Linked DNA regions of Homo sapiens: region 1 is linked to region 2. The links are contacts of gene promoters, found by promoter capture Hi-C in human tissues and cell types (Jung and others, 2019). All regions are on one chromosome and are shown on one strand. Each heading gives the region's core, a stretch centred on a gene start or on the middle of the fragment in contact. The rest is flanking DNA. Distances are from core to core; before and after follow the strand shown. Region 1 overlaps PRLR (prolactin receptor). Region 2 holds the start of PRLR (prolactin receptor).

What was found. Contacts are between HindIII fragments. The study calls those that stand out against the background at their distance.
Region 1: a fragment that was not itself captured here is called in contact with the fragment with the promoter of PRLR in region 2 in 1 of the 25 tissues and cell types used here (H1 embryonic stem cells).

Annotation. Positions count from the first base shown.
Region 1 is chr5:35,099,549-35,102,255 of GRCh38, reverse strand. All of the region lies in intron 2 of PRLR (prolactin receptor), which reads left to right. Among named protein-coding and RNA genes, the nearest start is that of AGXT2, 53 kb to the right of the region's middle. The HindIII fragment of the contact is 4,719 bases long and covers 1-2,707 here.
Region 2 is chr5:35,229,092-35,231,873 of GRCh38, reverse strand. PRLR (prolactin receptor) reads left to right here and starts at 1,387. Exons shown (of 10, transcript NM_000949.7): 1 at 1,387-1,606. The HindIII fragment of the contact is 8,302 bases long and covers 1-2,782 here.

The DNA.
Region 1 (2,707 bases), core at 193-2,692, 130 kb after region 2:
TATATCCACCATATCACACCATAATTTTTATGTTCATAAATGACCCCAGTACTCCATAAAAAGTTTCAATTAGGAAATCAGAGAAGCGCCTCATTTTTAGAAGTGTGCACCCAATAGATTAAAAGTTTGGCCGGGCGTGGTGGCTCACGTCTGTAATCACGGCACTTTGGGAGGCCGAGGCGGGTAGATCACGAGGTCAAGAGATGGAGACCACCCCGGCCAACAGGGTGAAACCCTGTCTCTACTAAAAAAACAAAAAAATTAGCTGGGCATGGTGGCACGCACCTGTAATCCCAGCTACTCCAGAGATTGAGGCAGGAGAATCATTTGAACCTGGGAGGCAAAGGTTACAGAAAGCCGAGATTGCGCCACTGTACTCCAGCCTGGGTGACAGAGCAAGAGTCCATCTCAAAAATATATATATATATAATATATAAAACATATATATGTTATTTATAAGTTATATATATGTTTTATAAGGTATATTTATGTTTTATATGTATATATGTTATATATATGTTTTATATATGTTTTATATTTATATATGTATGTTTTTATATATATATGTGTTTTCATTCCTGAAAGGGTGTGCTTTAGATATTTAGACATGATGATGCCAGAAAAATATGTTTTAATTGTGTGCATTTATGAAGGAAAAGGAAGAATGGGCTGAGAATTATTATTGCCTTGCTAGTTGAAGATTTCACAATGGAGGTTGTCCCAGTTCTTGAAGTCTCCACATTTCCTTGATTTCTGATATTGCGATTTTTATTCACTTCAGCTACTAACCCAACCACCTTGCAGCCACATCTCAGTGGGCTTCATCATCCATCTGCCCTTGAGTTCAAATTAATGCACACAAAGAGGTTACTGGAGGAATCAAGAAGGTCTCAGAACCTATCCCTTAGGAATATGGAGAGCCTGTTGATTAATGGAAAAGAGTTGCACAACTCAAGGCCAAGTGCTGTTTCCGTGGATCTGTACATGAGAATACTGCATTCTATATGACTTTATAAAAATAGTCACCCAACAGGTGTTGTTGAACACCTGTAGACATGTTTACAGGTGACAGTGTAGGGGGCTGAATATGTAGATGAAGCCAAACTGAGATTGTTCTGGAACTTTGATGATGGTATTCCAGACGGGACAATGGCAGTGGGTCAGGCGTTGGAGGCTTCCGTCTTAATCACTGCTCTTCTACTTGGTTAAATGTAGTAGTTACCATCTGCAGTAGGCTGTACTGGTTGTCTCTGGATTGTCCCTAGATTTGCCCAACTAAATAAAGCTAGCCATTATAACACCCAGCCTCTTAGCTCAGAGCACAACAGCCAAAGGTTTATTTCTCACCCATGTGACAGTTTGCTGGTGGTCAGCATGAACTCAAGAGCCTTTCATCTGTTGGCTGTACTGAGCTTTTAGGACCTCACAGTCCTCAATTTCATCTTCTTCAGGCCAGTAATGGAGGAGAGAGAAATAGAGGGGGGAATATGTAAAAAGCTTTAAAGACCAGGACTAGGCTAGAAGTACAGTCATGCATCGCTTGACAATGGGGATACTTTTTGAGAAATGCATCCTTAGGTTATCTTGTTGTTGCTTGAACATCATAAAGTGTACTTACACAAACCTAGATGGGATAATCTGCTGCACACCTAGGCTATATGGGATAGCCTATTGCTCCTAGGTTACAATCGTATACAACATTTTACTTTACCGAATACTACATGCAATTGTAACACAATGGTAAGTATTTGTGTATCTAAACATAGGAAAGGTATAGTAAAAACACAGTATAAAAGATTTTTTAAAATGGTACACCTGTAAAGGGTACTTACCATGAATAAAGCTTGCAGGACTGGGAGTTGCTTTGGGTGAGTCAGTGAATGAGTGGCGACTGAATGTGAAGCCCTGGGTCATTACTGTACACTACTGTGGACTTTATATACACTGTACACTTAAGCTACACCAAATTTTTTTTAAATTTTTTTCTTCAGTAATAAATTAACCTTAGCTTGCTGTAACTTAACTTTATAAACTTTCTTAAACTCATTTTGACTTTTTTTTTTTTTTTTTTTGAGACAGAGTCTCGCCCTGTCGCCCAGGCTGCAGTGCAATGGCTCGCTGCAAATCTCGGCTCACTGCAAACTCCGCCTCCCAGGTTCAAATGATTCTCCTGCCCCAGCCTCCCAAGTAGCTGGGATTACAGATGCCAGCCACCAGGCCCAGCTAATTTTTTTTGTAGTTTTAGTAGAGACGGGGTTTCACCATGTTGGCCAGGCTAGTCTCAAACTCCTGACCTCATGATCTGCCCGCTTCAGCCTCCCAAAGTGCCGGGATTACAGGCGTGAACCACCGTGCCTGGCCTTGACTATTTTGTAATAATACTTGGCTTAAAACACAAACACATTGTTCAGCTGTACAGAAACATTTTCCTTCTTTATATGCTTATACTATAAACTTTTTTCTATTTTTAAAAGTTTTTTTGTTTTACTTTTTAAACTTTTTCATTAAAAACTAAGACACAAACATTCACATTAGCCTAGAACTACATAGTGTCTGGATCGTCCCTATTGCTGTCTTTCACCTCCACATCTTGTCCCACTTGAAGTTCCTCAAGGATGATAGCATGCACGGAGCTGTCAGCTCATGACAACAATGCCTTCTGGAATACCTCCTGAAGGATCTGCCTGAGGCTATTTTACAGTTAACT
Region 2 (2,782 bases), core at 138-2,637:
GTTATTATGCCTAGGTAGTTGCTTCTGGGATTCCAGTCCAAAAGGATCACCAAAGCATCATGGGATTTTCAATGGCTTCCTGTGGCTTGGCAAATGCTCACTGCTAACTGTGATTTCCCAGTTATCCAGAGTAGCAGTCAAATCAAAGGGGAAAGCCTCATGTTTCAATAACTTAAAACAAAACAAAAAAAAAAACGGCCAGGCGCAGTGGCTCACGCCTGTAATCCCAGCACTTCAGGAGGCCAAGGTGGGTGGATCATGAGGTCAGGAAATCAAGACCATCCTGGCTAACAGGGTGAAACCTCATCTCTACTAAAAATACAAAAAACTAGCCGGACATGGTGGCACGCGCCTGTAGTCCCACCTACTCGGGAGGCTGAAGCAGGACAATTGCTTGAATCCAGGAGGCAGAGGTTCCAGTGAGCCGAGATGGGGTCACTGCAATCCAGCCTGAGCGACAGAGCGAGACTCTGTCTCAAAAAAACAAACAAAAACAAACAAAAAAAAAAACTCAGTAACCTTGGTTTAAAGTATTTCCTTGGTGGCCCTCTGGGTTGTGTAACAATCGGATGCATTAATTATTATGGCATCAAATGACACCAGCAACATACATAGTCAGAAATAACTATTTGATTCAGGCAGGTGCTATTATTTGTTTCAGCACTGTTAAATGTGGGGTTTTTGTTTTTGCAAGAGAAAAGGCGGTTGTGTGTGGTTTCAAGAAGAAGAAAAGTCAGAACAACATGCAGCCCATTAGAAAAGATAAATTCTTTATTTGTGGAAAACAACAGAAGTGGGGCTATTTAGGCACCGCCAATGTTTATTATATTCATATGGCAGAGAATAAACACAGCACACTAGAAGTTTGCGCTTTGGGTATTAAAAAAAAAAAAAAGCAAAACCTTCTTAGGTCACTGACTATCTTCTTTTGCTCCTTTCTATCTGACTCCTCAGGCAAGGTGCAATTCAAATCCCTGGAGAACCTCTCAAATATAGCTGCTGTTCAATGTTACTCAGAAATAAGGAAAGAAATTTGACACGGAGACACTCCACATCTTGGCTGCCTGGAAAAATATCATCTTTGAGGTCATTCAACTCACTAAGTCATTTTTATTATTGTTTTGTCTGTCTATTTTCTGGTACAGTCTCAATGAAAGATATGTGGCCCTAATCATGCAAAACCGATCTGGGGGGAATCAGTTGTTTCTTCAGGTCTTCGCAGGATTCCAGCTCCCCCAACTACCTCCGTCGCCTTCTAAAACTGGCAGGCTCTGGACGTTTTGCATGCTGAAGAAAATCACTGTTTTGCCTCCAGCAAGGAACATAAATGTTGCAACACTGACTCCTCCTCTCATGAAGAAAGAGTGAACAAGTGCACCGAGTTGAGCTTCTTCTCACAGAGCCACCGGGCTGGGGACCGGGGAGCGGAGGCTGAAATCCCCAGACGCCGGTTTTCTGGGCTGGGCTTTCTGCCTTACTCACTCCTTCTCCCTCTTTCTGGATTTTACCGACCGTTCGCGAAACAGCTTTCCACACAATGGAGCTTCATGTCCTCGTGCAGGAAGTACTCATCGACTGATGTGGCAGACTTTGCTCCCTGGCAAAAGTGAGTACCCATGGCGAGCTGAGGCCGCCTCCGACGGCGCGCGGCAGGGGCTGCGCGGGCGGCCGCTCTCCGGGATGCGGGTTCGAGGCCCGCGTGCTGAAGGGGAGAGCGGGGCCACCGGCGCGGGCTCCTGGAGAGAACGCCAGCCAGGAGCCAGAGTCGGCAGCCGGCGGGGAAGCCCGGGATCCGCCCGCCTCCCGCCCGGATGTCCCTTCTCAGAGGGGCTAAAAAATACTCTTAAGGTGCTTTGCCTCCACCACTGCCCCCAACCCCAGCTTTTACAAACTGCACTCGGCTCGCATTCGCCTTTGTCAAAGGCATCTTCACCTGTATCCTTGAGCATGAGTTTCGGCGTTGATTGTGGGATTCTCAGAATGCAAATTATTTGCGTCAAAATAAAAAGAAAAGAAAAAAAGAGCGGGGAGGGGGAAGGGGCGCAGACAGGTGATGTGATGAAAGCCGGACTCGAGACTCTCCCATCAGCAGCAGCCGCCGCCGCAGCAGCCTCGCGGGCATCCGGCGGGGAAAGTTTAGGGTTAGCAATGCTGACCTGAAAGGTGTTGCTCCTCCCAAAAGTCAGCGGGGGTAGGGGCAGATGAGCAGCCTCCGGGCCAGAAGCCGGAGCTGGACGGAGGCACCTAGGCAGAGGAATTGCAGCCCGGGAGGAAGCTGGAAGGAGAGCCCGCTGGAGAAGGGAGGAGGGAAGGGAAGAGGAGTTGGTTAAAGTCAGGCAAACTCAGGTAACTGGAGGGCCGGCCCGAGTGCTACGGCAGGGGAAGGCAAGGGCTGGAGTTCTGGCTCTTTGAGTAGAAAACTATCCTTTTAGTGACCTCTACCTGTATCCTGGGGAAGCAACCCACACTGCCCTGAAAACAAGCAACGTAGGGGATTCTATGACTGGACTTGAAAATGGTTGCAAAACATTATTATTAGTCTGGAGGGATCACTTTGTCTTCATTTGTCAAGTTGACCGGGCAAGATTTCCCACCTGAAATCGTGCTTCACTTGACCAGGGAAGTGCTGCTAATCCCAATCCTGACCATCAGCTGTGCAAACTTGGGCAAGATACTTACCCTCTCTGGGCTTCGATTTTTTTTCTGCAAAGTTTAGGGAATTAATTAATTATATATATATATTATAGAAATATATATAATATATATATAAATGTTTAATGAG